Regions from separate parts of the Homo sapiens genome. Here all the other regions are linked to region 2. The links are contacts of gene promoters, found by promoter capture Hi-C in blood cells and fetal thymus (Javierre and others, 2016). All regions are on one chromosome and are shown on one strand. The core of a region is centred on a gene start or on the middle of the fragment in contact, and the rest is flanking DNA. Distances in the headings are between cores, read along the strand shown.

Evidence for each region. The method cuts DNA at HindIII sites, captures the fragments that hold promoters and counts their contacts. A CHiCAGO score of 5 or more calls a contact.
Region 1: a contact is called between a fragment that was not itself captured here and the fragment with the promoter of SNX20 in region 2, in 8 of 17 cell types (total CD8 T cells, naive CD8 T cells, total CD4 T cells and 5 more). The highest score is 9.3, in total CD8 T cells.
Region 3: a contact is called between a fragment that was not itself captured here and the fragment with the promoter of SNX20 in region 2, in 1 of 17 cell types (activated CD4 T cells). The highest score is 5.1, in activated CD4 T cells.
Region 4: a contact is called between a fragment that was not itself captured here and the fragment with the promoter of SNX20 in region 2, in 1 of 17 cell types (neutrophils). The highest score is 9.0, in neutrophils.
Region 5: a contact is called between a fragment that was not itself captured here and the fragment with the promoter of SNX20 in region 2, in 3 of 17 cell types (total CD8 T cells, total CD4 T cells and naive CD8 T cells). The highest score is 7.8, in total CD8 T cells.
Region 6: a contact is called between a fragment that was not itself captured here and the fragment with the promoter of SNX20 in region 2, in 7 of 17 cell types (total CD8 T cells, activated CD4 T cells, non-activated CD4 T cells and 4 more). The highest score is 7.8, in total CD8 T cells.

Annotation. Positions count from the first base shown.
Region 1 is chr16:50,083,497-50,086,705 of GRCh38, reverse strand. It overlaps HEATR3 (HEAT repeat containing 3), which reads right to left. Exons shown (of 15, transcript NM_182922.4): 8 at 2,679-2,769; 9 at 2,415-2,572; 10 at 2,055-2,137; 11 at 355-491. Among named protein-coding and RNA genes, the nearest start is that of HEATR3-AS1, 19 kb to the right of the region's middle. The HindIII fragment of the contact is 2,772 bases long and covers 572-3,209 here.
Region 2 is chr16:50,680,054-50,683,431 of GRCh38, reverse strand. SNX20 (sorting nexin 20) reads left to right here and starts at 2,120. Exons shown (of 4, transcript NM_182854.4): 1 at 2,120-2,242. The HindIII fragment of the contact is 15,976 bases long and covers 1-3,378 here.
Region 3 is chr16:50,137,644-50,140,899 of GRCh38, reverse strand. No RefSeq gene overlaps it. Among named protein-coding and RNA genes, the nearest start is that of TENT4B, 14 kb to the left of the region's middle. The HindIII fragment of the contact is 2,454 bases long and covers 699-3,152 here.
Region 4 is chr16:50,040,238-50,043,720 of GRCh38, reverse strand. No RefSeq gene overlaps it. Among named protein-coding and RNA genes, the nearest start is that of CNEP1R1, 17 kb to the right of the region's middle. RefSeq lists a silencer at 3,477-3,483. The HindIII fragment of the contact is 9,784 bases long and covers 1-3,483 here.
Region 5 is chr16:50,120,004-50,123,271 of GRCh38, reverse strand. No RefSeq gene overlaps it. Among named protein-coding and RNA genes, the nearest start is that of TENT4B, 32 kb to the left of the region's middle. RefSeq lists an enhancer at 1-142 and silencers at 1,367-1,426, 1,717-1,806. The HindIII fragment of the contact is 210 bases long and covers 1,592-1,801 here.
Region 6 is chr16:50,154,211-50,157,567 of GRCh38, reverse strand. It overlaps TENT4B (terminal nucleotidyltransferase 4B), which reads right to left. Exons shown (of 12, transcript NM_001365324.3): 1 at 3,309-3,357. Among named protein-coding and RNA genes, the nearest start is that of TENT4B, 2.6 kb to the right of the region's middle. RefSeq lists enhancers at 1,643-1,702, 2,562-2,611. The HindIII fragment of the contact is 434 bases long and covers 1,880-2,313 here.

The sequences.
Region 1 (3,209 bases), core at 708-3,207, 600 kb after region 2:
CTCCCGCCTCGGCCTCCCAAAGTGCTGGGACTACAGGCATGAGCCACCGTGCTTGGCTGAGAATTATCCAAATACCTTAATGAGGCCTTTATGATATTTATGATACAGCCTTGACTGGCCTGATATAACTGGATGCAAACAATTTTAACAAAAAAGAAAATTATAAGCCCAGGAGCTGCTTGCATACCTCGTTTTGACTCTGTACCCCATGGCAACTATAAATACATGATTCCTGTGTCTGGGAAAGGTTTCTGCACATTGGATGACAAACAATATACATTTACAAAATCCAAATTCCTGCCCCTTCAAAATTCTGTTCCGTCTGCGTAGTCTTTCGCAATAAAGTCTAAATACCTGGTTGAGAAAAAAGCAGCTGTGACAGATGCTGTGCAAGCGTCTGAAGGGCTGCGGCTCCTCCCAGGTGCTCCACATCCAGGAGGGACACAAGACTCTGGAGACAGAAGAGGGCTCTGCACTGAATAGTGTTCATTCTGGAAAGGAAGTGAAACAATGCCATCTGATTCTCCAGAAGTTGCCCATCAGAATTCAGTATTAACTTTTAGCCTAAGCTTCACGTTCTGACTGGAAATATCTGTAAATACAAGGTATCTATGGCAGTTAGCAAAGAATCACAAGGTGAACTGTTTTTTGTGTTTTCTAAAATTTATCATCATTTTTTAGACAGGGTCTTACTCTGTTGCCCAGGCTGGAGTGCAGTGGTGTGATCACAGCTCGCTGTAGCCTCAACCTCCTGAGCACAAGTGATCCTCCTGCCTCAGCCTCCTAAGGAGCAGGATTACATGTGCATGCAACCACACCTGGCTAAGTTTTTTATTTTTTGTAGATAGGGGTCTTGCTATGTTGCCCAGGCTGCTCTGGAACTCTTGGCCTCAAACAATCCTCCTGCCTGTACCTTCCAAAGTGCTAGAATTATAAGGTGAACTGTTAATCTGCCAAATCAAACTGCTTGAATATTCACGGCCTCTGATACACAACTCATTCATGAGTCATGAGGAATATGTTTTAGAAAAATTTCTATGTAGGGTAGCATCCTTAAAATTATAATTTTCTTCAGACAGGGTCTCATTCTGTTTCCCAGGCTGGAGTACAGTGTCACCATCATAGCTCACTACAGCCTTAGACTGCTGAGCTCAAGCAATCCTCCCACTTCAGCCTCCTAAGTAGCTAGGACTACAGCTGAGTGCCACTATGCCAGGCTAATTTTTGTATTTTTTTTTCCTTTGTAGAGATGGGGTCTTGCTATGCTGCCCAGGCTGGTTTCAAACTCCTGGCCTCAAGTGATCCTCCTACCTTGGCCTCCCAGAGTCCTGGGATTATAGGTGTGAGCCACCATGCCCAGCCTAAAATTATTTTTAATTGTGAAATGTGACATATATACAGTTAAGTACACAACATACATAGAGAGTTTAACAAACAGTCTATGAAACCAAAACCCATGCACCTGGGAAAGAAATTAACACTGCTGGACCCTGAAAGCCCCTGTATCTCTTCCATATAATATCCCACCTCCCTGACACCTACAGGTAAGCACCATACAGACTTCTATGGTAAACATTTCCTTGCCTCTTTTTTTTTTTAATAGGTTTATCACCAAGGTATGCATCCCTGAACAAAATAGTTCAATGTTGCCTGTTTCTCAACTTTGTAAAAACTGAATCACAGTGTGTGTATTCTTTTATGTCTCGCTTTTTTGGTTCAACAATGTAAGTTCCATCCGAGTTGTGAGTAGCTCTAATTCAGATCCCTTTTACTGCTGCATGTATTGTACTGCGTGATTTTGTCAAAATTTATTTACCATTCTAACTCTGATGGACAACACGTTTGTTTATGGGTTGGGGCAACTGTGACACACACTGCTATGAACACTCTCATATACATGTATTCTAGGGCATGTGGGCACATATTTTTCTGGTATATATACCCAGGAACAAAACTTCTGGGTCCTAGGGGGAGTCAGCACCTTCTATTTAATAGCCCATCATTTCATAAAATAAAATAATGACAAATGTTTTTGAAAGCAGAAGAGTTCTTACTTTCTAATCAAAGGTTTCCAAGTAGGGTTCCTAGAACATAGGTCAACTGCAATGCTGTTTGGAAAGGCAGTTTTCTCAAAAATCTAGATTTAAAAGAGGCAGTAAAGCAAAGGTTAAAGAGTAGTCATTTAACACGATTCCCTTACATAATTCCAACATATTACTCCTAAGTGAAATGGTTAGGCTTCATATAGAATGACCTTTTCGCCTATTTCCAGTACTGTTAGGCTCAGCTTTGTCTCAGATCTTACCACCATCTACAACCTGGAAGTGTGAGCTTGCTTCTTTTGTACACAAAATGAATACCTTGCTTAAGCCTTTCCCATGCTCCACGGTAAGCCTAGAATGAAAATGGATTACCTTCTTTGGGATGAGGTAGTTGGTGAGAGCCGTGTGAACTTCATGGGAGAGGCAGAGGGGAGAAAACAGCTGTCCCCCGCACTCACTGAAGGAATTCTCCATAAATGCGTCACTTTCATCACTGCTAGAAAGCTCTTCCCATTCGTCATCAGAGGGATCTGGGAAGCGGGCAAACCACGCAGAACTGGAATAGTTAAGAAAATCTCCACGGGAGTTTCCCTCTTGGCTCAGGGGGAAAATGTCTAAATGTAAATGTTAACAAACCTTCATTGCAGCACATGTTGACAATAATTTCCAGAGCAGTCTGTTGGGCTGTCAGCAATGCTATAGTCTCTCTCAGTTCCTTGTCAGTGGGCTTAAAAAAAAAAAAAAAAGTAAATGACCAACTCTCAATGGTTGGGAAAATGTTTTTGGGGAATTTCCTTAGTGAAAGCCTACTAGAAGATTTTTGCGCTTGGAATAGAGCACACGGGGAATGGGGTAGGTAAAAGAAAAGTCATGAAGTGCCAGAAGTACAAACGAGCATTATAATTCCTCTTGGTACAGTGGAGCATGCCCCCGTTAACTGGGTTTCCATCTATCTGCATGGCTATTCCCCAAGCGTCACTTAGTTAGCTGGAGAGAACAGACAAATATTCAGGAATTCTGAACAGAATTCACCCTGAAACTTATCTACTGTGTCAAGAAGTAGCTGGGCATACTAAGATTTAAACAAGAGTTCATTTCAGACACCAGGCACTTAGAAACACCAAACCTGCTTTTAGATGCTTAGCTTAGATGTCTTTCTTGGAATGG
Region 2 (3,378 bases), core at 871-3,370:
TTCAACCATATCAAAGGACTAATATGGTTCTTTAAAGTTGACAACTTCTATTCGTCACAAAACTCCATTAAGAGAGTACAAAATGCAAACTGCAGGATGGAAAAGGATATTGAGAAGCACATAAACCCAAATGAATACATAAAGAACACCTACAAACCATTAAAAATAATCAAGTCAATAATGAGCAATGACCTTGAACAGACACTTCATTGGAGAAGGTATAAGGATGGCAAATAAGCCCATGAAAAGATGCTCAACATCATTAGTCCTTAGGGAAATGCAACTTAAAACCTTGATGAGAGACCACTGCACATTAATGCAGTGGTACACTGAAAAACACTGACCAAACCAGACACAGTGGCTCACATTGGTAATCTCAGTACTTTGGGAGCCCAAGGCAGGAGGATTGCTTGGGGCCAGGAGTTCAAGACCAGCCTGGGCAACATAGTGGCCATGATGGTCTATCCCTCCAGAAACAAAAAAAATTTATTAGCCAAGCATGGTGACGTAACTGTAGTCTTAGCCACTCAGGAGGCTGAGGTGGGAGGATCATTTGAGCCCAGGAGTTCTAGGTTGCAGTCAGCTATGATGGTACCATTGCACTCCAGCCTGGGTGATAGAGCAAGACCCCATCTTTAAAATAATTATAATAATGACCATATCAAGTGCAGGTAAGAAGGTGGAGCACCTGGAATTCTCATATACTGCTGGTGGGAATACAAAATGGCACAGCCACTGTGGAAAATATTTGGCGTAATCTAGCACAGTTGAAGCTATCTATACTCTGAGACCCAGCAATTTCACCTCAGATAAGTACATGGACTTGGATAAATGTGTAAGAATATCATCAGTGGCATTGATCATGATGGCCACCCTAGGAACAACCCAAGTGTGCATCAAAAGACAAAACAAAAAATGACAAATGGTGATGTATTTAAATAATGAAGCAACAGAAAACCAAACACAGCATGTTCTCACTCATAAGTGGGAGTTGAACAGTGAGAACACATGGACACAGGGAGGGGAACATCACACGCTGGGGCCTGTCAGGGGTGGGGGCCAGGGGGAAGGAGAGCATTAAGACAAATACCTAATGCATGCAGGGCTTAAAACCTAGATGATGGGTTGATAGGTACAGCAAACCACCACGGCACATATATACCTATGTAACAAACCTGCAGGTTCTACACTGGTATCCCAGAACTTAAAGTAAAATAAATAATAATAATAATGTAGCAACACAACAATGGAAATGAAAAAAAGTATCTACACAGAAATGCATCAGTGAATCTTATACCCATAAATGTTGCATGAAAGAAGCAAGGCACTGGAGAATACACACAGTATGCATGGTTCAATTTATATAAGATTCACAGATGAGTAAAATGAAACTGAATTGTTTGGGGATCTCATAGGTGGTAAATTTCTAAGGAAAAGCCAAGAAGTAACCCCCATCTGAATCAGGACTGTGACTGCCTCTAATAGGGAGGAAGGGAATCATGGCTCAAAAAAAAACACATGGCAAACTTCTGGGCGAGCCAGCAAAGTTCTATTTTTTTTTTTTTTGTCTGATTTCTGTTTCTTGCCTTCAAGGCCACAAAGATGGGTGGGCATGAATCACACCACACTGCCCTGGGGTTTCGCTTCCCTGGGACTTTCTGTTGGTGGTGATGGATACAGCTTTGCTCAGAGAAAAGGCACCAGATGGAACTGTAATTCTACCCCACTGCTCTTCTATGTCAGTCACTGGCTCTGTGTCCCACCAGCTCTGTGATCCAAGCCTCGGTTTTCCCATCTGTTCAAGGGGCATGACGGCCCCCATCATGCCTAGCTCATAGAGTAGAATAATGAATGTTAAAGGGCTCTGGGAGCTAATGCCTGAATTCCAGAGATCAACGGGGACTCGAAGGACAGCCAGACCTCTGCAAGGCGGCAGGGAAAGTGAGGCTGAGCTAAATCCCACAGGGCTGGCCCCACACCGCCTTGCCCTTCCCTGCGCTACCCGGAAGAAGAGGTGGGTACAGCTGGCAGGCTGGCAGTTGAGTTCAATATACCATGTTTCACCAGCCAATGGGCTGGGGCGATCAGAAGCAGGTCACACAGCCTGTTTCCTGTTTTCAAACGGGGAACTTAGAAAGTGGCAGCCCCTCGGCTTGTCGCCGGAGCTGAGAACCAAGAGCTCGAAGGGGCCATATGACACTCCTCCCGGACCCCTGGACACACACAGCCCTGGAGACTGGAGGTCAGTATTTGATCCCAAGCTCAGCTGTCCTCTGCCTGCTGTGGCCTGAGTCCCCTTCTCCTGGGGCCCTGCCTGGCACCTGCTGGGGGCAGGGTGGGAGGGGGAAGAGTTAGTGACAGCCACTGTGTCTGGAGCTCTCCTTAGCACACTGAGGCAGAGGAAGGGACAGCTCCTGGACCTTCCATCACCTCCATTCCTTTTGAAATGCTAGGCGCTTGTACAACCCATCTTGGGCCTGGAGAATAAGTCACCACACCTGTGTTTCTCAAAAGAACAGTGTCAGGGAACCCCTGCCTCAGCACAGCCTTAGAGGACTCATGGAAAATGCAGAATCCAGGCCTGTTCAATGGCACCTTCCTATGTTAGCAGCCAGGAAACCTGCTCTTGGACAAGCCCCTGGGATCCCACCCCCACCCCACCAGGGGATTCTTACACACACTGGGTTGGGAGCCCCTGGCTTTGGCAAGGCTTCTCAGGTGAGCGTCCAGTTGTTGGAGGGTACCCACCCTTTCCCCAAGAGAGGCAGCCACACATCCAACATCCTGGGATCTCTGTCTCCCAGCGTGGGCCATGTGCTTTATTTCACCCCCTAGAGGCTCATCCCCCATGAAAAGTCCTCCGCAGGCCCTCAGAAAGATAGTGTGGCCTCTGTGTGCCCAGCAGAAGAAGGACTGGACTTGGCAGTCAGCTCTTGGAGAGGGGGTGGTTAGGACACCTGGGGACAGGAGGAGGAGAATGACTGTCTGTGCACACACGGCTGGAAGGCAGAGGAGGCTGGGAAGCTGCTCTGTCCCCTGGGCCAACTACAGGCCCCCAGGCCAACAGCAACAACACTTTTAGTATTTTGTTATAAAGTCAAGAAATCTTTGCTACAGAGGGTGAGGAGAGGGAAGGAAAGGGCCATGGAACCGTCTATGTGGCTATCCCCAGAGAGCTTTTAGAGTGACAGGATTGCTTTCCCATTTCACAGATGAGGAAACTGAGGCCTGGAGAGGGATGGGAAGCTACCCAAGGCCCCATGGATACACCAGTGCACAACTCTTTCCTTCCCCCTCCTCTTTAAATGGGTGACTCCCAATGAAACCTGTAAGAGACAACCATAAGGGAGCTGACTGTGGCTGCTGAATTTGATTTTA
Region 3 (3,256 bases), core at 676-3,175, 540 kb after region 2:
TCACAGGGCATCTACTGTTAAAGTGAGCATATTGATTGGGAAACAATAGGATCCTGGAAATTGAAATAGGGATGTGCGGGAAGACCTTGATAAGAGACATTGAGCCCCGAAAGTCTGATGTATCTCCATTGCCAGTGGAAGAGGCCTCCCTACCCCAGTGGTATGGGTCTCCCCATCACTCTCCCAGCCCCATCTCAGGGAATTAACTCTGCATTGCCTGAGGAAACTGTAAAGGCCTCCACTGAGGCAGTTGACAGGCAAGACTATGCTGATTCTGTTACGGGACCACCTCAACAACCCCCTTTGCTTCTAGACCTGTAACTAGACCCAAGTACCAGTAGGTCCCTAAGGCGAAGTACAAAGTGTGACCCAAGAGGAGGGATGCGATGCTCCAAAAGAACTACAGCAGTCCCCCCAATCCATGGCTTTGCTTTCCACAGTTTCAGTTACCCACAGTCAACCATGATTCAAAAGTATTAAGTGGAAAATTCCAGAAGTAAGCAACTCATACTTTTTTTTCTGTTTTTGTTTTGTTTTGTTTTCTTTTGTTATTGAGACAGATAGGGTCTTGCTCTCCACTCAGGCTTGAGTACAGTGGTGTGATCATAGCTCACTGCAGCCTTGAACTCCTGGGCTCAATCCATCTTCCCATCTTGCCTCCCAAGTTAGCTGGGACTACGGGTGTGCACCACCAAGCTTGGCCAATTTTTTTGTTTTGTATCGTTTTGTTTTGTTTTGTTTTGTTTTTGTAGAGATGGTGGTCTCACTGTGTTGTCCACGTTGGTCTTGAACTCTTAGCCTCAATGGTGCCTCCCACCTTGGCCTTCCAAAACGCTGGAATTATAGGCATGAATCACTATGCCCAACCAACTCATAATTTCAATTGCGTGTTGTTCTGAGTAGTGTGATAAAATATCGTGTCATTGCTAAATGGACTTAGGGTTGTTTAAAAGAAATAAAGAATATAAATAAAATAACACAATAAATTAAAAAAAAAACTTACACCATCCCACCCAGGGTGCGAATCATCCCTCTGTCCAGCATACCTGCACTGTGTATGCTATTCACTCATTTTCACTTAGTAGCTGTCTCAGTTATCAGATTGACTGTCATGGTATCACAGTGTTTGTGTGCAAGTGGCTTTTATTTCACTCAATAGTAGCCCCAAAGTAAGAGTAGTGATGCTGGCAATTCAGATATGCCAAAGAAAAGCTGTCAAGTACTTCTTCTAAGTAAGGAGGTGAAAGTGCTCAACTTAATAAGGAAAGAAAAAAACTCATATGTTGAGGTTGCTAAGATCTATAGTAAGAACAAATCTTTTATCTGTGAAACTGTGAAGAAGGAAAAAGTAATGAAATTCATGCTAGTTTTGCTGTCACACCTCAAATTGCAAGTTAGACTACAGTGACTGACAACTTTCATTACAGCATGTTGTTATAATTGTTCTATTTTATTATTAGTTATTGTTAATCTCTTCCGGTGCCTAATTTTTGTTTGTTTGTTTGTTTGTTTTTGAGACAGAGTGTCACTCTGTCACCCGGCTGGAGTGCAGTGGCACAATCTTAGCTCACTGCAACCTCCACCTCCTGGGTTCAAGTGATTCTCCTGTCTCAGCCTCCTGAGTAGCTGGGACTACAGGCACACACCACCACGCCTGGCTAATTTTTTTTTTTTTTTTTTTTTTTTTTTAGGAGAGACAGAGTTTTGCCATGTTGCACCAGCTGGTCTCAAACTCCCGACCTCAGGTGATCTGCCTGCCTTGGCCTCCCAAAGTGCTGGGATTACAGGCTCAAGCCACCATGCCTGGCCTAATTTTTTTTTTTTTTTAGTGCAGTCAAGGTCTTGCTATGTTGCCCAGGCTGGTCTCAAAGTCCTGGGCTCAAGGGATCCTGTCTTCTCAGCCTCCCAGCATCCTGGGATTACAGGCTTGAGCCACCACACCTGTCGTAGAGCCTTTCTAACTCCCTAAACTGAAGAATTAAAGGCAGAATCTCTGCTTAGTGGGCCCAAATCAATTAATTTAGCCTGACCCAACCTTATGTTCTTTCCACCATCATCGCATACCCTTAGTATCCATTCTCACACATGCTCTCCCATTTCTGTCCATATAAATTAGAAAACTCAAGTAGAGTAGTCCCCTCTTAGCCTAAGGGAATATGTTCCAAGACCCCCAGTGGAAGACTGAAACTGTGGTTAGTACCGAACCCTACATATACTATGCTTTTTTCTATATACACATACCTATGGTAAAGTGTAATTTATAAATTACTTGCTGGGCACAGTTGCTCATGCCTGTAACCCCAGCACTTTGGGAGGCTGAGGTGGGCAGATCACTTGAGGTCACGAGTTTGAGACCACTCTGGCCAATATAGTGAAACCCCATCTGTACTAAAAATATGAAAATTAGCTGGGCATGCTGATATGCACCTGTAGTCCCAGCTACTCAGGAGACTGAAGTGGGAGAATCACTTGAACCCGGGAGGTAGAGGTTGCAGTGAGCCAAGATCGTGCCATTGCACTCCAGCCTGGGTGACAGAGTGAGACTCCATCTCAAAAAAAAAGCCAGCCAGGCATGATGGTGTGTTCCTGTAGTCCAAGCTACTCAGGAGGCTGAGGTAGGAGGACCATTTGAGCCTGGGAGGTCGAGGCTGCAGTGAGCCATACTCTGGCCTGGCTGATAGAGTGAGACCCTGTCAAAAAACAAACAAACAAACAAAAAGGCCAGGCAAGGTGGCTCACGCCTGTAATCCCAGCAGTTTGGGAGGCTGAGGAGGGCAGATCATGAGGTCAAGAGTTCGAGACCAGTCTGGCCAACATGGTGAAACCCTGTCTCTACCAAGAATACAAAAATTAGCCAGATGTGGTGGCGGGCACCTGTAATCCCAGCTACTCGGGAGGCTGAGGCAGGAGAACTGCTTGAACTCAGGAGGCAGAGGTTGCAGTGAGCTGAGATCGAGCCACTGCACTCCAGTCTGGGTGACAGAGCAAGACTCTGTCTTGGGGGAAAAAAAAAGGAAAGAAAAGAAAAAGCTCTAACACTTCAGTTGGTTGGCTCAAACATGGAAAACATGGACCAAAACCTGGTCCATGGTGAGCAAATTGGAAATGCCGTACCTGCCTTGGTTTTATGTAGGGAAAGGAATTCAGAAGCTTAGGGAGATTGGCATGCTAGAGTGAATTTGTCATTTAAGGCCTATTCACCCACACTGGGAAGGTTCAAAAGACACACCTTTCACTAGTACCGTGAAACATAACA
Region 4 (3,483 bases), core at 701-3,200, 640 kb after region 2:
ACCGTTTGAATCCAGGAGTTGAAGACCATCCTGGGCAATATAACAAGACGCAGTCGAAGAGAAGAGGAAGAGAAGAGAAGAGAAGGAAAGAAATTCTGGAAGGAAGGAAGAAAGAAAAAAAAGAAGAAAAAGAAGGAAGAAAGAAAGGAAAGAAAGAAAGAAAAGAAAAGAAAGAAGAAAAAGAAGGAAGAAAGGAAAGAAAGAAAAGAAAAGAAAGAAGAAAAGAACAGAACAGCAGGTTCTTGCCTTCTCTAGAATCCCAAGCCCTCTATGGGAAGTAAACACTCCGACCCCTTCTGTTTCTCCTGTTATTATCTCTGTATTCCCAAATGATAAGCTATCACGCTTTCTGATTTATCAGTATCATATATTATCTTTTGATTTGCTGGCCTGATAGGTAAGGACTTAGCTCTCCAAAACTCTCTCCCACATTTCTCCTTTGCCCCACAAAATTGTACCGGAATTCTCTATTAAATCACTCTAAATTTCTAGGACAATGCAAATTTTGCTCACTGCTGAACTAAGAAGCCCACTAAACCACAATTCCTTTCTTTGTTCTTGGAATTAGTAATCGCCTTTTTTTTCTTATCCTGGTTTTCCATCAATTTGTCATTATTTTTCCCCTAATGTCCAACATCTTTGTCTATCGCTGCATACATTTAAACATACCCATTCCACTTTCTTCCTCATGGTCTCCTTCCTAACCCCATGCTGTCATCGGGACTGGGTGCTCTCTAAGGATGCGTTGTGCCTTGCATGCTGGAGTCCCATTTCCCATGTGGCTGTTAGCACGTGAAGAGATGGTAGTGATGTTCACCATGATAATGCTGCTGGTTTATTGTGGAAGATCTCAGCAGAAGTCACTGTACGTCATTTTGTTATCTCTCTCCTTTTTTTAAAAAAAATGTCTGTACCCATCCATCCACTAACTGTATGTCATTTATTGAAAGTGTATTCCATATGCATAAATTGAGTTCACATATGTAATCAGATAGAATTCAGAAACAGGGATTTCAGAAACCTAGGTCCTAGGTTGTGCAATTGCTACTATTCAAGTATCCTTTTCTGGATCTCAATTCAAATAACCCAACTCTAAAGGATACATTTATGGGACAGTTGGAGGAGTTTAAGCAGAATATTTGGTATAAAATTGCTACAAAATTATTAGCGTTTCAGGTATGATATAGTATTGTAGTTATATGTAAAATTTTTCTTAACTTTTGGAGATAGTTACTGGAAGATTTCTATATCAAGTGATGTCTGTGATTTGCTTCAAAATAATCCTTTGTGGGGGTGAGGGAGCAAGTTGAAATAGGGTAGGCTGAGCATCTCAAAACTGAAAATCGAAAATCTGAAAAGCTCCAAAATTCAAAACGTTTTTGTTTTGAGACAGAGTCCACTCTGTCGCCCAGGCTGGAGTGCAGTGGCACAATCTCAGCTCACTGCAACCTCTGCCTCCCAGGTTCAAGTGATTCTCCTTCCTCAGCCTCCCAAGTAGCTGGGATTACAGGCACCTGCCACCACGCCTGGCTAATTTTTGTATTTTTAGTAGAGACGGGGTTTTGCCATGTTGGCCAGGCTGGTCTTGAACTCCTGACTTCAGGTGATCCGCTTGCCTCGGCCTCCCAAAGTGCTGGGATTACAGCCATGAGCCACCATGCCTGGCCCAAAATGTTTTGAGTGCTAACCGGACACTTAAAGGAAATGCTTGTTTTGCAGCACTCAGATTAGAGAGTTTTGGAGTTGGAATGCTCAACCTGTAAACATAAAGCAAATATTCCAAAATGTGAAATCTGAAACACTTCTTGTCCTAAGCATTTTGGATAAAGGATTCTGAACCTGTATAAGAAACAAGATTGGCTATATGTTGATAATTGCTCAAGTTGGGTGATGGGAGTTCATTATACCACTCTCTCTATGTTTGCATGTGTTTAAAACATTCCAGAACAATTTGTTTTTAAATGGTTTTCAGGGTAGGTCAGGAAAAAAAATAAATCTGATAATTGTAGGAGACAGAATTTAAAACTCATCTTCTAGCAAGGATATATTTCTTTTTTAATTTACTTAATGAACTTACAATAGACTTAGTTATTTTAGTTTCTCTACCGTTACTTAAATTACAAATCTGAGGCCAAAGTGGGACGATCACTTGAGCTCAGGAGTTCAAGACCAGCTTAGGCAACAAAGTGAGACCCTGTCGCTACAAAAAATTAAAAAGTTAGCTAGGAATGGTGAGAGCCTGTAATCCCAGCACTTTGGGAGGCTGAGGTGTGAGGATTGCTTGATCCCAGGAGTTGGAGGCTGCAGTGAGCCATGATTGTGCCACTGCACGGCAGCCTGGGTGACAGAGCAAGACCCCAACTGAAAATAAATAAATAAATAAAATTTATGTTTTAGTGTATTTACGTATTTATATAAAAACTCAGTTTCAATACCAAAGTCAAGATTCATCCATTTGTTCAACAGCAATTGAGCATCTTCCATAGATGCCAGCACTCTTGGGTACTCAAGATACACCTATAACAAGTACTCAGAATAGCGACTCAAAAATTAGTTTGTGATTTTAAAAAAAAAGCTGGAAAGCTATCTTTTACATACATTATTTCATTTCATCCTTCTAGCTATTCTGCAAGATAGCTATCTAATAGGCCTAAATGAAATTAAGGTTCAGAGAGAATAAGTCACTTGCCCCACTGGCTAATGGAGGAAATGGGACTGTAATCCACATTGATCTGCCAAGTCTGGGTCCTTCCACTGCACGTGGCCCTGAGCTCTCTTACCTGCCAGATGGCATGAGGCTTGATTGGAAGCACTCTCATCTGTTAGATCAACTCTCCACAGCATGCTCCTGGAACACAACTGCTGTGTACCACTCTAGCAGTCAAGCAAGCAAGAGAAGCTGACTTTGAGTAAACTGAAAGCCAATTATTTAAAGGATATTGGGTACTTCAGGATTTTGGAGTGGTCTAGAGAGACTGGTTCAAGGCTAAAGTTCCAGAAGAAAAAAAATGCCCAAACCCATCTTACGGAACTGGTCGGATGAGGAAACTGATGCCACCACCACTGAGTCCCACTGAGTGCCCTGCCACGGAAACACAGCTTTACCACCTCCTCGCATGCCTGGGTCCCAAATGCAGGAGTCCAAAGTTTTCTGGGTTGTCCTGAGAGAGGATGGACTGACATAGCCAGCATTCCCCAAATCTAGCACGGGTGCTCAGAGGGAGCTGGGCAAGGCAACCACTCTGTGATTCTCTCTGTGGGATGTTCAATACATTTGCATGCCTCTTCTCCAATTAAAAAAGAGCAACTGGACAGACAGAAACCACAACAAACACTCTCTGTCCCCCAAATAATGTGAACAAGTCTTTGGTGAAATGGCAGAAAAGCAGGCAGTTTAACAGGTTTCTCTACTGCAGGGCCACTCGGGACATTCATGCATGCATTCATTCATTCGTTTGAGGCAGAGTGTCACGCTGTCGCTCA
Region 5 (3,268 bases), core at 447-2,946, 560 kb after region 2:
TCATGGCTCACAGCAGCCTCCAATTCCTGGACCCAGGCAATCCTCCCACCTCAGCCTCTTGAGTAGCTGGGACTACAGGCAAGCACCACCACATCCAGCTACTTTTTTTTGTTGTTTTTTTGAGACGGAGTCTCGCTCTTTCGCCCAGGCTGGAGTGCAGTGGCACCATCTCGGCTCACTGCAAGCTCCACCTCCTGGGTTCACGCCATTCTCCTGCCTCAGCCTCCCAAGTAGCTGGGACTACAGGCGCCTGCCACCATGCCTGGCTAATTGTTTTTGTATTTTTAGTAGAGATGGGGTTTCACCGTGTTAGCCAGGATGGTCTCGATCTCCTGACCTCGTGATCTGCCCACCTCGGCTTCCCAAAGTGCTGGGATTACAGGCATGAGCCACTGCACCCAGCCACTTGTTTTTGTTTTTGTTTTCTTTTTTTTCATTTTTTTGTAGGGACGAGGTCTTGCTCTGTTGCCCAGGCTGGTCTCAAACTCCTAGGCAAGGAGGGAAAAATAAGGGAAAAGCTTGGCCCGCTTGTTTTGCATTTTACCTTGGAAAAGGCCCTCATGGCTTGGCTTGACACATGTCTGGAAAAAGAATTCCTAAAACAAAGGAAATTTTTTTAAAAGAGGAAAATAAGAATTTACCTTTCTGCTGCTTTTGTTGTTGTCATTTGTTTGTTTTGGGGGTTTTTTTTGAGATGGAGACTCACTCTGTCACCCAGGCTGGAGTACAGTGGCACAACCTCAACCCACTGCAACCTCTGTCTCTTGGGTTCGAACTATCCTCCTGTCTCAGCATCCTAAGTATCTGGGACTACAGGTGCATGCCACCATGCCCGATTAATTTTTTTGTATTTTCAGTAGAGACGAGGTTTCACCACGTTGGCCAGGCTGGTCTTGAGCTCCTGAACGCAAAAGATCGGCCTGCCTCAGCCTCCTAAAGTGCTGGGACTACAGGCGTGAGACACGGTGCCTGGCCCTTTTCTGCTTCTTTGTGATGTAGTCAAAACATAACGTGCTATTGACTCTGAAATTCTTTGTTTTTCTGGGGGAGGCCAAGGCAGGAGGGGCTCTGCAGGTACTGGATTACAGGTGTGAGCCACAGCACATGGCCTGAATTTCGTTTTTAATCTATAAATGTATCACTTAAACATGCACCCCCAAAACCAAATAGCTCCTATGACTTCCAATTTCAAGTAAAATCCCTTCTTCAGCACTTACTCCTTTACTTGGCGCTCTGCCTTCCCCATCCGGGAAACACCCTTGTCTGTTGCACCTGCCCCGTAATCCCCCTCCAGGATGTTTTGTGGTGAGCGCCTTCAACAAAAGAATAGCTACAGAATTAAATGTGTTTGGAACCACATGCACATCGTGCTTTGACTACCTCACAAAGGAGCAGAAAGGCAAATTCTGTTTCCAGTAATGTGCAAAGTCAAGCCACAAGGACCTTCTCTGAGGTAAAATGCAAAATGAAAGGGCCAAGCTTTTCCCTTATTGTGATTGTGTAACCAGCCTAACAGACATTTAATTTGAGAAAAAATTTGAATAATAATATGGAGTTACCCTGGAGTTTTGGGATGGTCTAAGAGTAAGCTTTGAAAAATGTGGCCAAAATGATTATAATCAGGGTGGGGGGAGCAATTTCTGTATTTATTTGGCTGACATGAAAAAAAAATCCAGCTGAAAATCTGCAGGCTGACAAATGGACAGAACCCATTACAGAGCAAGAAAAACTGAGTCAGAGAGGACAGGCTAGAGCTCTGGGAGGCCACACACCTTGTGCCAGAAATCGAAGCTGCCAAGCTTATCACTTACAAACCTTGTCATATCATGTTAGTGGGACGGTTTCAAATGGATAGCCCCTGATCTGTTTTGAAACTAGCCAATATAGCTGGGTGCGATGACTCACACCTGTAACCCCAGCACTTTGGGAGGCCAAGGCAGATGGATCACTTGAGGTCAGGAGAACGAGACCAGCCTGGACAACATGGTGAAACCCTGTCTCTACTAAAAATACAAAAGTTAGCCAGGTGTGGTGGTGGGCACCTATAATCTCAGCTACTCAGGAGGCTGAGGCTGGAGAATTGCTTGAACCTGGGAGGAGGAGGTTGCAGTGAGCCAAGATCGTGCTACTGCACTCCAGCCTGGGCGACAGAGCAAGACTCCATCTCCAAAAAAAAAAAGAAAAAAGAAAGAAACTAGCCAATATAACCAACTTAAAATATAATGGAAGTCATTTCTCTTAGGGCTATAGAGAATATGTGAGACACAGTGAGTGGACTGTTTCTTGTGATCACATCTTATTTACCTTCAGTAATTAGCAAGGGACTGTGACCACAGCAATACAAGATTATTGACCTGTTCAAAGTTCTAAAACAGGACCTGAAAAACACAACCATAATTAATGTTGAATGATTAATCAACATCTATGTGTTGATGGCTGAAAAACCTTGAGTTATAAGATATTATCTCTGTCTAGCTTTTTAAATCATAATTAGTTTTTTTTGTGTGTGTGTATGTGTCTGTAAGACATTACAATTTTGCCTAGCACAGTGGTGAGTCCCTATAGTTCCAGCCACTCAGGAGGCTGAGGCGAGAGGATTGCTTGAGTCCAGGAAGTTCAAGACCACCCTGGGCAACATAGTGAAACTCCATCTCAAAAAAACAAACAAAGCAGCTATAAAATATTGCAGTTTCTCACAGGTGACACTATGGCTACGTCTGCTTGATTATTCAATCTGTTCAAGCCGGACAAGTTGTCAACGTGGCTACAAGTTCATGACTTTGGATCCTATGAAGATCAAAAGTTATGCTTAGGCCAGGCAAAGCTCACACCTGGTAATCCCAGAGCTTTGGGAGGTCAAGCTGGAAGGATCACTTGAGGCCAGGAGTTAGAGGCTGCAGTGAGCTATTATTGCACCACTGCATTCCAGTCTGGGTGACATACATAAATAAATAAGGTGGCACACAGCCTCTTGGCCACAATAACATCCTTTTCAAGAAATATCTGGGTACTTGACTAAATAGCTGTCTTTGCCTTTCATTCATTCATTCATTTATTCATTCTACCAATATTTAACACTGGGGTGCAAGGAGGCATAAGTAAGGACTGTTACTCACAGTCCGGTGGTCCATGGGTTTGTGGGTGTGTCTTCCAGCCAATGTGTCATTGTAGCCAAATCTTTTCTTAATTGGTTGGAGTGCGAGCTCCTGGAGAAGAGACACAAAGGATGGGTAACTCAAGTGGGGAAATTGGTGTTCCTGGAGCAGAG
Region 6 (3,357 bases), core at 847-3,346, 530 kb after region 2:
AATGTTTTAAAAAGCAAACAAAATCCCTGGTCTGTGGGTACATGAAGAAGTCTGAGATGATGAGCTCAAGAGTTTTATTTTGAAGACTTTAGGATGAAATCCAATATCTTACTCTACATATTAAAGAAATGTCCATGTCATGTGTAAGAGGGAACACATAATAAAAGGAAAGTTAAACATAAGTGGGCTATACCAAGAGCATGAAGTGAGTACCTTTGAGAGTTCAGAGGAGAAACCAAAAACATCAAGGACTTAGGCAATGCAAGAGGTCAGCATTCTAAATAAATCAACCAATTTGGTGGAAGCAGAGAACACAAAAGACAGCTGCGAGAGACTATATAGCTGTCCCATGGTTCTAGTCCATTTTCACATGCTTTCTGGTCTCCTCTCCCCATCTGGACTATCAGTTCAGAGGCCAAGAACCACCACAATGTGTTAACCTATTAGCTAACTATCAGTCACATCTTAAGAATTCAGAAAACAATGGTAACAGTTTTAGTATATTTAATCTCAGAACAGCATAACATCGAGGTGCACTCTGAATTCAGATTTTTTTAAATACCTATATTAAAAATAGAAAAACTTTCTAAAGTTAAGAAATAAGGATACTGGCGAGAATGGTGGCTCATGCCTATAATCCCAGCACTCTGTGAGGCCAAGGTGGGAGGACTGCTTGAGGCCGGTTGAAGACCAGCCTAGGCAACAAATGGAGGCCCCATCTCTACAAAAAGTAAAAATAAAAAAATTAGGCAGGTGTGGTGACATGTGCCTGTAGTCCCAGCTACTCCAGGAAGCTAAGGCAGGAGGATCACTTGAGCCCAAGAGTTAGAGGATACAGTGAGCTATGATCACGTCACTCCACTCCAGCCTAGGCAGCAGAGTGAGACCCAGTCTCAAAAGAAAAAAAAGAAATCAGGATAATGAGGCCGGGCACGGTGGCTCATGCCTGTAATCCCAGTCCTTTGGGAGGCCAAGACGGGCAGATCACCTGAGGTCAGGAGTTCGAGACCAGCCTGACCAACATGAAGAAACCCCGTCTCTACTAAAAATAAAAAATTAGCCAGGCGTGGTGGCAAGCGCCTGTAATCCCAGCTACTCGGGAGGCTGAGGCAGCAGAATCGCTTGAACCTGGGAGGCAGAGGTTGCGGTGAGCTGAGATCGAGCCACTGCACTCCAGCCTGGGCAACAAGAGCGAAACTCCGTCTCAAAAAAAAAAAAAAAATCAGAATACATGAATCAAAGCAAGAATTTCTAAGCACCCAGACACTCTTAACACTCTTGGGAATTGTTTAATGTATTTTTTGAAACTAGGAGGTCTCAGAATTGAACTTTTTTTAATTTAAAAAAAAAATTAACTGCTGACATCCTCTAAGGGAGGAGGCAAAAGAATGGAAAATCTGGTGAAGTGATAAGCAGTTTTTAAAGAGGTTTACAACCAGTTTTTAAACAGTAATCCCTCCGGGAAATGAAAATTCCTCTCCTAATCCCTTTGAGGGCAATATATTTGAATCAGGAACAAGAACATCTTGCTTCTAAGTATAAATATGAACCTTTTAGAGTATCTTCTGCATTAAATAGCAAGTAGAGGAGAGGACAATTTCTAATTTATCAAAAAAAAAATAAGCATCTTGGACTTATATCTTTTGCTAGACACATGCAAAGAGGCTTCAGTAAAATGCAATTAAGGAACTTCAAGGTTTTCGTTGACAGTGATTACCTAACTGGAGCTTACTCCTGTGAAATGAAACTACCAGAAACCCTCAACATCAATTTGCTTGTCACTAAACCACAGGTTTACGCGTAGACTTGGAAATGCTAACAGGATGGAACCACAAGCCTTTAATAAAACGTGATGACCATGGAGAGCACCCTTGAAGCTTAGCAACAGAGGACTCAACCCTAAAAGGGTTCCCTTTCTGGAATGTGAGGGCAGGTTTGACATGTACCACAGCACCAGTCCTAGAACGCTTGACTGCATTTTCCACAAAAGGTAGGAGTTGTAATAGTAGCATAGAGCAGACACCAGCCCACTGGAAGCAGATGGAACCCACCAACTCATTTTATCCAGACCTTCAAAAAGGTACACAGAACTCTCTCTCTCAGCCAAAGCAGGGCAGATCTGAATGAATAAATCCAGGAAAAGGTTCACATGGGATTACTAATTGGTAATTTCATTTGCATGCTAAAGCCCTCAATGTAAAACACAACCTGAAAAATGAAAAGCAATTTGAAAGCCGGTTCTCCATACTCAAGCTACACACACACACACACACACACACACACACACACACACACCCACGAGACCCAAAAGCTTTGTTTTACAAAACAAATAAGATTCAGTGACCTATTCCAGCACAGGGACTCTTCTGAAGGGAGATCTAGTTGGAAACATTCCCTGCTTATGTACATAATTCACTAGGGGTCAGGTAAGATTCCATTTTCTAAGAGCTGAACTTTAAACAGAAAGTCACTAGTGGTGCAATATTCACTCATTAGCATAAATCTCTACCCCCTAGAATGAAAAGCATTGGCTGCCTCTGCCAGGATGACAACTTTACAGTGAGAAGCTGGAGCCGCGGACCATGAACTCCTGGAAAGTTCTATCAGGGCCTCAGAAGGGCTCACCACCTTCACCAGCCTAAACTTAGTGGTCACCCATCCCACGCCACCCTCTGCATAGACAGGGCATCTGTGACATGGGAATTTTTTAAAAATAAAAAGATGGGCCAAAGGGTCAAGAGCAGGCAATGCCTTACAGGGCTGACATAATTGCTGTCTGGGATTGGGGGATGGGGAGGAGCATTCTGGATGTTTCTATTCTTGGCAAGGAAAGCACCTCCGGGTCCTGCACCATCAAAAAACACTCACACACCAATGTTCTCAGGGAATGAATGATAGGCCCGTGCTAAGCGGTCTCATCTTGAGTTGTGATGATGGGGAAAAAGGTGTGGAGGGCTGGAGGCGGGGTGGTGGTCAAGGGTAGATGTGTTTAACTAAGGGGGATGGGAGGAGAGTGAATGGATAAAGGGGGGGGCCTGGGGAAGGTGTGGACGGTTAAGAGGGAGGGGAGGAAGGTGTGGACGACTAAGGGAGGACAGGAGACGGAGGGTGTGGACGGCTAAGGAGGCTTGGGGAAAGGTGTGAACGACTGGGGGGTTGGGGATGGCCAGCAGCACCCCCGTGCAACAGCAGCGAAGGCAGGCCGTGGGGGTGGCCGCTCCTAGACCCTCACAACCCCCCTCTGTGGGCGTGTGCCCGGCTGCGCATTCGCACCGGCCAGGCCATCGGGCCGCAGAGCCAGCACTCACCCCACGACTCCCTGGTTGTAGTTCCTCCGTTTCCACGGGGTCCCGCTGT